2 separate regions of the Homo sapiens genome follow, and region 2 is linked to region 1. The links are contacts of gene promoters, found by promoter capture Hi-C in blood cells and fetal thymus (Javierre and others, 2016). All regions are on one chromosome and are shown on one strand. The core of a region is centred on a gene start or on the middle of the fragment in contact, and the rest is flanking DNA. Distances in the headings are between cores, read along the strand shown. Region 1 holds the start of BST2 (bone marrow stromal cell antigen 2). Region 2 holds the start of SLC5A5 (solute carrier family 5 member 5).

What was found. Contacts are between HindIII fragments. The CHiCAGO score rates a contact against its expected background, and 5 or more counts as called.
Region 2: the fragment with the promoter of SLC5A5 here is called in contact with the fragment with the promoter of BST2 in region 1 in 5 of 17 cell types (naive CD8 T cells, fetal thymus, non-activated CD4 T cells and 2 more); the score reaches 9.3 in naive CD8 T cells.

Annotation. Positions count from the first base shown.
Region 1 is chr19:17,404,298-17,409,618 of GRCh38, reverse strand. BST2 (bone marrow stromal cell antigen 2) reads left to right here and starts at 3,989. Exons shown (of 5, transcript NM_004335.4): 1 at 3,989-4,328; 2 at 5,182-5,248. The coding sequence starts at 4,044. It overlaps BISPR (BST2 interferon stimulated positive regulator), which reads right to left and starts at 3,933. Exons shown (of 4, transcript NR_130766.1): 1 at 3,848-3,933; 2 at 3,323-3,542. It also overlaps a transcript of MVB12A not described here. RefSeq lists enhancers at 2,978-3,027, 3,228-3,277, 3,328-3,387, 3,578-3,957, 4,028-4,087 and 2 more. The HindIII fragment of the contact is 7,369 bases long and covers 1-4,108 here.
Region 2 is chr19:17,869,714-17,874,832 of GRCh38, reverse strand. SLC5A5 (solute carrier family 5 member 5) reads right to left here and starts at 2,888. Exons shown (of 15, transcript NM_000453.3): 1 at 2,157-2,888; 2 at 630-695; 3 at 288-339; 4 at 102-169. The coding sequence starts at 2,513. RefSeq lists a silencer at 424-553 and enhancers at 346-1,118, 4,766-5,119. The HindIII fragment of the contact is 10,072 bases long and covers 1-5,119 here.

The DNA of each region.
Region 1 (5,321 bases), core at 2,740-5,239:
AAATTAGCCGGGCATGGTGGCGCATGCCTGTAATCCCAGCTACTAGGGAGGCTGAGGCAGGAGAATTGTTTGAACCCAGGAGGCAGAGGTTGTGGTGAGCTAAGATTGCATCATTGCACTCCACCCTGGGTAACAAGAGTGAAATTCCATCTCAAAAAAAAAAAAAAAAAAAAAAAAGTAATGGCAGAGGCTGGGAGCGGTGGCTCATGCCTGTAATCCCAGCACTTTGGGAGGCCAAGTCGGGTGGATCCCTTGAGGTCGGGAGTTCGAGACCAGCCTGGCCAACATGTCGAAACCCCGTCTCTCCTAAAAATACAAAAAGTAGCTGGGCATGGTGGCAGGCATCTGTAGTCCCAGCTACTCAGGAGGCTGAGGCAGAAGAATCACTTCAACCCAGGAGGCAGAGGTTGCAGTGAGCCGAGATTACACCACTGCACTCCAGCCTGGGTGACAGAGGGAGAATATATTTAAAAATATAAAATAAAATATAGGCCGGGCACGGTGGCTCACGCTTGTAATCCCAGTACTTGGTGAGTCCAAGTTGGGTGGATCACCTGAGGTCAGAAGTTTGAGACCAGCCTGGCCAACATGGCGAAACCCCATCTCTACTAAAAATGCAAAAAGTAGCCAGGCATGGTGGCAGGCATCTGTAGTCCCAGCTACTCAGGAGGCTGAGGCAGGAGAATCGCTTCAACCCAGGAGGCAGAGGTTGTAGTGATCGAGATCGTACCACTGCACTCCAGCCTGGGCGACAGAGAGAGATTCCCTCTCAAAAAAAAAAAAAAAAAAGTAATGGCAGAAACCGCAATTACTTTTGCACCAACCAATATATAAAAATACATTATATATTTAAAAATATAAAATAAAATATAGGCCAGGTGCAGTGGCTCACGCCTGTAATCCCAGCACTTTGGGAGGCTGAGTCAGACAGATCACCTGAGGTCAGGAGTTCAAGACCAGCCTGGTCAACATGGCAAAACCCTGTCTCTACTAAAAGTACAAAAATAAGCCAGGCATGGCGGTGGGCGCCTGTAATCCCAGCTACTCAGGAGGCTGAGGCAGGGGAATCGCTTGAACTCCGGAGGCAGAGGTTGCAGTGAGCCAAGATCGTGCCACTGCACTCCAGCCTGGGCAACAAGAGCGAGACTCCATCTCAAAAAAAATTAATTAATTAATTAATTAATTAAAACAAAATAAAATAAATATATGTACTTAAAATATATATATATATTTATTTTTAAATAGGGATAGGATCTCTCTATGTTGACCAGGCTGGTCTCGAACTACTGGCCTCAAGCAATCTTCCCATCTCAGCCTCCCAAAGTACTAGGATTGCAGGCATGAGCCACTGCACCCATCCCACCATTTGTAATTGTGGGCGGCAAGCCACCCAGGTGCCAAGGCAAGAGACTGAGGACACGAGCTGTTCCAGTATAATAAAATATAAAACAAGAATAGTTATACCAAATATAGATCTTAGAGATATATGAATATCATTAATCATTAGTTTGTAGTAATTACTCTTTATCCCAATAGTATAATAATCCTCGGTCTACAATCATAACCTAGGAAAAACCAGGCCATACAGAGATAGGAGCTGAGGGGACATAGTGAGGTGTGACCAGAAGACAAGAGTGCAAGCCTTCTGTTATGCCCGGACAGGGCCAGCAGAAGGGCTCCTTGGTCTAGCGGTGACGCCAGCGTCTGGGAAGACGCCCGTTGCCCGAGCGGACAGTGGTCTAGCGGTAGCGAAAAGTGTCAAGGAACAACACCCACTACTTAGCAGACCGGGAAAGGGAGGCTCCTTTTCCCTGGGGGAGTTTGGAGAAGACTCTGCTCCTCCACCTCTTGTGGAGGGCCTGACATCAGTCAGGCTCGCCCGCGGTTATCTGGCAGCCTAACCGTCTCCCTGTGATGCTGTGCTTCAGTGGTCACGCTCCTAGTCCGCCTTCATGTTCCATCCTGTACACCTGGCTCTGCCTTCTAGATAGCAGTAGTCATTTAGTGAAAGTACTAAAAGTCTCTGATATGCAGAAATAATGGCATAAGCTGTCTTTCTGTCTGTCCCCTCTCTCTCTCTCTGCCTCGGCTGCCAGGCAGGGAAGGGCCCCCTGTCCAGTGGACACGTGACCCACGTGACCTTACCTATCATTGGAGATGACTCACACTCTTTACCCTGCCCCTTTTGCTTTGTATCCAATAAATAACAGCACAGCCAGACATTCGGGGCCACTACCAGTCTCCGCGCATTGCTGGTAGTGGTCCCCCGGGCCCAGCTGTCTTTTCTTTTATCTCTTCGTCTTGTGTCTTTATTTCTACACTCTCTCGTCGCCGCACACAGGGAGAGACCCACTGACCCTGTGGGGCTGGTCCCTACAGTAATTTTAAAGGGAAGAGCAACAAACTTTCGGTTTGCAGGGCTGGGACTGTTTACAGCTGCAAAATTTAGAGAGGACATCAATCTATTATTATCCACATTTTACAGCTGGGGAAATCAATGCTAAGAGAGGAAATTCATTTGCCCAGAGGTGCACCACCCTGGCCTCCAATGTGCAATTCATGCAATTGTGATTTCCGACCTGGTCCCAAACTAACCCTAAAGTTAGCAGGCCAGAACAGTGCTGCTCAAATAAGTCAGCTTAGTCAAATAAGTCAGGCAAAGGTCGTGTCTTTGCACCTGGAGTCCTGGCCAGGCTGGTAGGTCCCTCCTCCTGGGACAAGTTCACCCTCAGAATTTTCAGCAAGATCATCTCCCACAGCTTGTTAATTGGTTCTTGGTTCTAAGTGATTTTTTTGTTTATTGGTTTAAGAGATGGGATCCCACTCTATCACCCAGGCTTGAGTGCCGTGGCACAATCATAGCTCGCTGCAGCCTCAAACTCCTGGGCTCGAGTGATCCTCCTGCCTCAGCCTCCCAGCCTCAGCCTGGGACCACAGGCATGTACCACCATGCCTGGCTCTAAGTGGCTTTAATGGGGTCCTTCTGAGGGATGTTGGAGTCAGGGCCTGGGGGGAGTTCCCCAGGCCTTCTGGGAGGCCTGGGCTCTGGACTTGACCTCGCCTACTGTCTGGCCCTGCTGAAAAGAAAAAAAAACATGGAAATGGCAGACCTAACAGAATCTGGGCTGTGGTCAGGATGTGGCTGAAGAAGCCACAAGAAAAACATGCAGTCCCCTTTCAGCGGTCATGCCCAGCAGTTGGGTGCCGATAATGGGCCTGATTTCCTGTAGGAAGCCCTGGCTCTCTTGGCCACATGGACAGTGTCTGAGGCTGGCCCTGTTATTCCCCTTTGCAGATGAAGAAACAGGCTCAGAGAGTTTACCTGGTATCCTGGAGTCCCAGGAGCACTTTTTCTGGAAGTAGGAGCTTGTTTCCTGCAGGTGCCAAGACAGAGACCGACATTGTTTGTTGGCTGGGTCGGTCTCCCAGTTTTCAGCTGGCTCCAGTCTCACCTGTTGCTCACACACCCTCCATGTCTCCCATAGTCCCCTCGGTGGGGACAGAGGCACTGGATGAAGCCCTGCTCGTCACCACAGAGACACCTGAACACAAAAACCAGTCCCTGGGGTCAGACCCAGGCCCCGCCCCCAGACCCAGGCCCTGCCCTCACTCCACCACGCAACTGTGCAACCTCAGTTTCCCCAGGTGGAGACCGGACCAACAGTGATGGCCTCTGCCTCTTCAGGTCATAGTACAGATGAATACAGGCTGGCACGGCCTAGGCACTCAGTAACACACAGCAGAGGCACAGGGACTTAAGATGGAGTGTCCCAGGCAGCCACAGTTGGCTGGCACCCAGCTGGGAAGGGCCCAAGGGCTTTTAAAGCAGGGTGAAAAAAAAGCCCACCTCCTTTCTGGGAAACTGAAACTGAAAACCTAATTAATCCTCTGCCTGTAGGTGCCTCATGCAAGAGCTGCTGGTCAGAGCACTTCCTGGAACTTGCTATTGGTCAGGACGTTTCCTATGCTAATAAAGGGGTGGCCCGTAGAAGATTCCAGCACCCTCCCCTAACTCCAGGCCAGACTCTAAAGGGGAGATCTGGATGGCATCTACTTCGTATGACTATTGCAGAGTGCCCATGGAAGACGGGGATAAGCGCTGTAAGCTTCTGCTGGGGATAGGAATTCTGGTGCTCCTGATCATCGTGATTCTGGGGGTGCCCTTGATTATCTTCACCATCAAGGCCAACAGCGAGGCCTGCCGGGACGGCCTTCGGGCAGTGATGGAGTGTCGCAATGTCACCCATCTCCTGCAACAAGAGCTGACCGAGGCCCAGAAGGGCTTTCAGGATGTGGAGGCCCAGGCCGCCACCTGCAACCACACTGTGGTAAGCTCCTCAACTCCTTTGGATGGCCTAGTACTAGGCGGTGGGAGGGACAAGAATCTCTCCCCAGAAATCTGACCCAGGGTGGGTCTCCAGGGAGATGCAGGGGAGGTCCTGAAACTGCTCCTGGGCCCCCACATCAAGGGACCTAGGTTCCCCTACCAGGGTTTGTGGGCCCCTAACCCAGTCCAGGGCACTGGTGTAGGGGCAGGGTGTTAAAACTCTCCAGATCCCCCAAATCGGGGACCTCAGTATCCCCCTGGGACTTAGGTGAATTTATAAATTCTTTCCAGGGCACTGGTGTCGGGGGCCTTGAAACTCCTCGTGGGCACCAGTCCTGGGGGAGTAGAAATCCCTATTCAGGGTTGAAGGGGGACCTCACCAGACCCTGAAAAAGGGGGCTTTTGAAATTTTCACTTCATCCCTAAGAAACTGAAATATTCACCTGGGTCCTGATATGGGGGATCTTGAAACTCTCGCTGGGCATGTCACTTGGGCGGGGAAATCCCACTGCATTCTGGATTTGGTAGGGCCCTCTAACTTTTCTTGGGCCATTGCTCAGGCAATCTGGAAATGTCCACTAAACTTTGGTTATCGATAGCCTCCAAGTTTCCACGTGGGGTGGCCTCAAAACTCCCATTTTGAGGACCCACATGCTTATGGGTGGCCCTGGGAGAGTGTGTGGTTGTGGCTGTTCTTTAAGGTTGGAGACCATGGTGCAGAGAGGGTTGGAAGAAAACCTGAAAGGGGTTTGCATTTAAGCCCCTCTGTCCCCAGGACCTAGGGAGGAGGCCCAGGTCCCAGGGGCAGCAGCCAAACTCCCCAGGCCAAAACCCCAGATTCTAACTCTTCTTAGATGGCCCTAATGGCTTCCCTGGATGCAGAGAAGGCCCAAGGACAAAAGAAAGTGGAGGAGCTTGAGGGTGAGAAAGGGAGAAGGGAGAGGGCCGGGGAGGGGTGAGTCAGGTATGGAAGAGGGGGTGGGGGCAGGGAGAC
Region 2 (5,119 bases), core at 1,639-4,138, 470 kb before region 1:
ACAGAGGCTTCCTCAGGAGAAAGGGGCAAGCCCAGAGTCTCCCCACAAGAGACACAGTGGGCCCGATCCCCCGTATGGAGTGAGTTCCCAGGGCCACTCACCACAGCCGTGTAGAAGGTGCAGATAATTCCGGTGGACAGGAGCGACGCCCAGATGTCCAGCCCGGTCACTATGCAAAAAGAGGTCCCCCTGTTAGGCCCCTGGGCGGGGCGCAAACTTAGTCTTGGGTTCTCCTCTCCCTCCCTTTCTCTTCCCAGACATGCTTCCCTAATCTCCCAGAGTCACACCTTGGTTCAGGATGAGGGCCGGTGCGTAGATTACGATGCCGGTGTACAGCATCTGTAGACAGAGTGTGGGGCGGGTGAGCAGGGAGGGCGTCTGGGCGAGTTGGGGATGGGGAGAGGAGGCAGAAGGGTGGTCCCAGAATATGGGCGGGGCAGATAGGCCGGGTCTTCCAGAGTGCAGGCGGGGTCAGGCCGGCTGTGGTGTGGGAGGGGACTGATGGGGGCGGGGTCAGAACGGGAGCATGGGGGGCGGGGTCTGGGCGGGGTCTTGAATGGTGGGGGCCGGGCTAGTGAAGGCTGACGCTCTCGGGGCCCTGAGCGGAGGGCGGGGCCGAGGCCACTCACCGTGGCTACAATGTACTGCAAAGTCCCGCAGAGCCGCACTGCGCGGCTGAAGCGCATCTCCAGGTACTGCAAGGAGGGACTCGAGGTCACCTGGACAGTCCTTACCCAGGAGCCGAGGCCTCTCGGGTCCCTGGTCTGCTCTCTAGGTGGGCCCCTCCCTCCGGAAGCCAACCGCGCCCGCCAGATTCTTGCACGTGGGGGCCCCGCCGCACGCACACACCCGTGCACAGGTGCCATCCCGTGCCTGTGCGTACCCCGTGGACCTGGAGGACTGGTCCATGCGTGTGCACGCGCCCTCCCACTTGCGCCTGACGGGCGCGGGCTCCTGGAGCAGCCACCGCTCAGCAGACACCGACGTGGCCCGCAAGCGCACAGTGTAGACAGTGCCCCGGGCCAATGGTGTTGGCCGCCTAGGATATACCTGTCACGATTTTTTTGGGGGGGAGGGGGGACGGAGTCTCGCTCTGTCGCCCAGGCTAGGGTGCACTGGCACGATCTCGGCTCACTGCAACCTCCGCCTCCCAGGTTCAAGCAATTCTTCTGCCTCAGCCTCCTGAGTAGCTGGGATTACAGGCGCGCGCGACCATGCCCGGCTAATTTTTGTATTTTTAGTAAAGACGGGGTTTCACCATGTTAGCCAGGCTGGTCTTGAACTCCTGACCTCGTGATCCACCCACCTCGGCCTCCCAAAGTGCTGGGATTACAGGCGTGAGCCACTGCGCCCTGCCACAATATTTTTTTTTCCTTTGAGACAAGAGTCTCGCTCTGTCGCCCAGGCTGGAGTGCAGTGACGCGATATCGGCTCACTGCAACCTCCCGGGTTCAAGCAATTCTCCTGTCTTAGCCTCCCAAGTAGCTGGGATTACAGGTGCCCACCACCACATCCGGCTAATTTTTGTATTTTTAGTAGAGACGGGGTTTCGCCATGTTGGCCAGGCTGGTCTTGAACTCCTGACCTCAGGTGATCTGCATGCTTTGGCCTCCCAAAGTGCTGGGATTACAGGCGTGAGCCACCGCACCGGGCCCCGGTCACGATTTTAATCGCTTTACCCTCTCCCCTGGAGGGAGGTCCTGTAATTCGCCCATTGGACAGCTGGGAAACCCAAACAGAGAGGCACGCCCCTTGCCCAAGATACAAGAAAGCAGTGAAGCCAGGTTTCGAACCCCGGAGCCGTCAGCAGTCCCCTCTAGCGCGCACACGTGGGTCTGCACGCCCGGGCAGGTGGGGGGCAGGTGTGTGTCCACCCGTGAGGACACACCTGGTCGAGCCGGGCCCCGCCCCGCGCGCGCTTCCACCGAAGGAGCAGGACGCCAGGCTCTCTCTTCCTCCTTCCTGCCCCTCGCCGGGCGCCTGGGGCCTCTTCCTAGAACCCTCCCCACGTGTCTGCCTAGGGGCCCCTTCCGTTAAAGCACCGAGGTGCCATCCGCGTCCTCCTGTACAGCGGCCCAAAGCCCCAGCGCCTCCCCCACACGGGGTCCCAGCACTGCCAGTGGGGCAGGTCCTACCCCCGGGCCTCTGTCCGGTACCTCGTAGGTGCTGGTGAGGCCCAGGCGGTAGAAGACGGGCATGAAGAGCAGGGCGGTGAGGACCGAGTTCAGAAGCTGGCCCAGGCACATCCAGAGGAACTTGAGGCCATAGCGATAGGCCTCCGACGGCACGCCCAGCACCTGCACGGCCGACATGAAGCTGGCAGACAGCGACAGGCCCACGGGCAGGGCCGCCAGGCGCCGGCCCCCGGTGAAGAAGTCCTCAGCGCTGCGCTGCCCGCCCCGAGCCAGCCCGACCCACAGCCCGATGCCAGTGGACACCAGGAGCATGAGGGCAAAGACCCCGTAGTCCCAGGCTCCGAAGGTGGGCCGTTCCCCGGTCTCCACGGCCTCCATGAGGGCGGGTGCGGAGGCCCAGCGCGTCCTCGGACGCCCTGCGTGCTCAAGCGGGGGAAGCTGGCAGGGGCCGAGGAGGCAGGACGGGGAGGGCGGGTGGGAGGATGCTCGGCAGCCTGTCCCCGCTCCGTCTGGGGTGGGAAGCGGCGAGAGGGGCCGGGGCTCCCTGGGTTAGGAATCTATGGGCTGTCGATGTCCGTGTCGGCCTCCCTGTCCCCGCTGTCTGTCTCTGCGTCCGCCCCTGCTGTCTGTCTGTCCTGCCACCTCCCCTCTCACTCTGGGTTCCGCTGTCCCATGCAGCCGGCTGTCTGTCCCTCTCCCTGGGCGCTGTGCTCAGCGCTGACAGCTGGAGGTCGCCTTGGGGCTTACGGGAGCAGCTCGTGATTGTGGGTTGCAGATTTATTGGGCTCCCGGGTCACCGCGACTCCGCCTCCAGACCTAGGGGCGGGCAGGACCCGCACCCTTTCAGCCCTGGACTGGGACAGACAGGCCAGGACAGGCTATCTGGGTGGCTGCAGGGGGTGGTATCGGGGAGGGCTCCCAAATGCCCCTCCATCCCCATGCACCCACCCATCCCCATGCACTGTGATCCCCTGATCACAGCTGTCACTGTCTGCTGTTGACAGGTGGGGAAATTGAGGCTCAGAGAGGGCATGTCACTATCCAAGCCTGCACAGCCTGCTTCAGCACTCAAAGCCGTATTGTGCTTGAATACCTTGAGCTATGGGGAGCTCACTTTCATGCAGGACTGGGGTTCACTTTCAGGGTTTCAGGGGACCCATAAAGAAAACTTACCTGGCTTTACCACCCCCAAACTGGCATGTGGGCCTACCCCCTTTCTCTAGAGCCTTAGGGGGTGGGCATCACTGAACCCCGCTCTTGGGCTAAGCTGGGTGGGAGACATTCAGAGCTCAAGTTCTGAGTGGGTACATACTTGGGGAAGACTTTGCTCCTCCCTGGGCCTTAGTTTCCCCATCTGTAACAAGGATAAAATAGACCCTGCCTCAGAGGAATAAATGGGACGTGGTAACGAAAGCCTGGTACATGATAAGTGCCTCATTCATTTATTCCTTTATTCATTTGTCACTTCATTCATTCATTCATTGGTTCCTTTGCAGATATGCACTGAGAGTTGGCCCTGTGCCAGGCATAAATGGCTCACTGAGGTGGTGCGAGGGGCCTTTAAGGTTATGAACCCGAATAAGCGGAGACCATGACCACCAGGGAGGTAGAGTCTGGCTTGTCCCTATCATATAGATGAGGAAACCAAGGTTGGGTGTGGGAGAAAGTCTACTGGGGGGGTCACGCTTCCATGAGGACCAACGAGCTGTCATCTCAGGGCCCTTCTCTGGGGGACCCAGGAGGACTTTGACCTCTGGAGGTTCTGGTCTCTGGGTTCAAGTCTCAGCTCAGCCTCCAACTTTCTGGGCAATCACGCATCTCAAACTTGGTTCCCTTCTCCATAAGCTGGTGGAATCTGAAATCCTGGGGGTTGAAAGAAACAGCGTCAGAGGCCGGGCATGATGGCTTATGCCTGTAATCCCAGCACTTTGGGAGGCTGAAGTGGGAGGATCATTTGAGTCCCAGAATTCGAGACTACCCTGAGCAACATAGTGAGATCTTGTCTGTATGAAAAATACAAATATTAGCGAGGCGTGGTGGCACATGCCTGTAATCCCAGCTACTCAGGAGGCTGAAGTGGGAGGATCGCTTGAGCGTGGAAGTTCGAGGCTGCAATGAGCTGTGGTCGAGAACTGCACAGCACTCCAGCCTGGGCAGCACAGCAAGACCCCGTCTCCAAAAAAAAAAAAAAAAAAAAAAAAAGGGCTTTTGAGCGCTTCTCGCCAGCCTCTGCTGCTCCCTGGTGGCCTCCTCTGGCCTACCCTCTGCCCTGGCCGCTCCAGCTGGGTCCAGCGTTTCTCAACGCGTCCCCACGTAACCCCCGGACAGTCCTCTTGCTCCCTCTCTGCTGTGCAGGGTGGACCTGTCCCTCCCCCGGGGCTGTGACACTGCGGCGGCTACGCGGGCACCTGTTGCCGGCTGGAGCGTACCTCCTGCCCTCGCCAGGAGAGTGGGTTAGGCACCTAGTTCTTTCTCCTTCCACCCTGGTCAGGCATCCTCCTGGAAACCCCGTTGGAAAAGGGGAGATCCGGCCGGGTGCGGTGTCTCACTCCTGTAATCCCAGCACTTTGGGGGGCCGAGGCGGACGGGTCTCTTGAGATCCGTTCAAGACCAGTCTGGCCAACATGGTGAAACCCCGTCTCTACTAAAAATACAAGAATTAGCCGGGCGTGGTGGCGGCCGCCTGTAATCCCAGCTACTTGGGAGGCTGAGGCGGGAGAATCGCTTGAGCCCGGGAGGTGGAGGTTGCAGTGAGCCGAGATCGCGCCACTTCACTCCAGCCTGGGCGACAGAGAGAGATTCCGTCTCAAAAAATAAATAAATAAACAAATAAATAAATAAAAATCAAGGCTGGGCGCGGTGGCTCACGCCTGTAATCCTAGCACTTTGGGGGGCCGACGCGGGCGGATCACGAGGTCAGGAAATCGAGACCATCCAGGCCAACGTGGTGAAACCCCGTCTCTACTAAAAATACAAAAATTAGC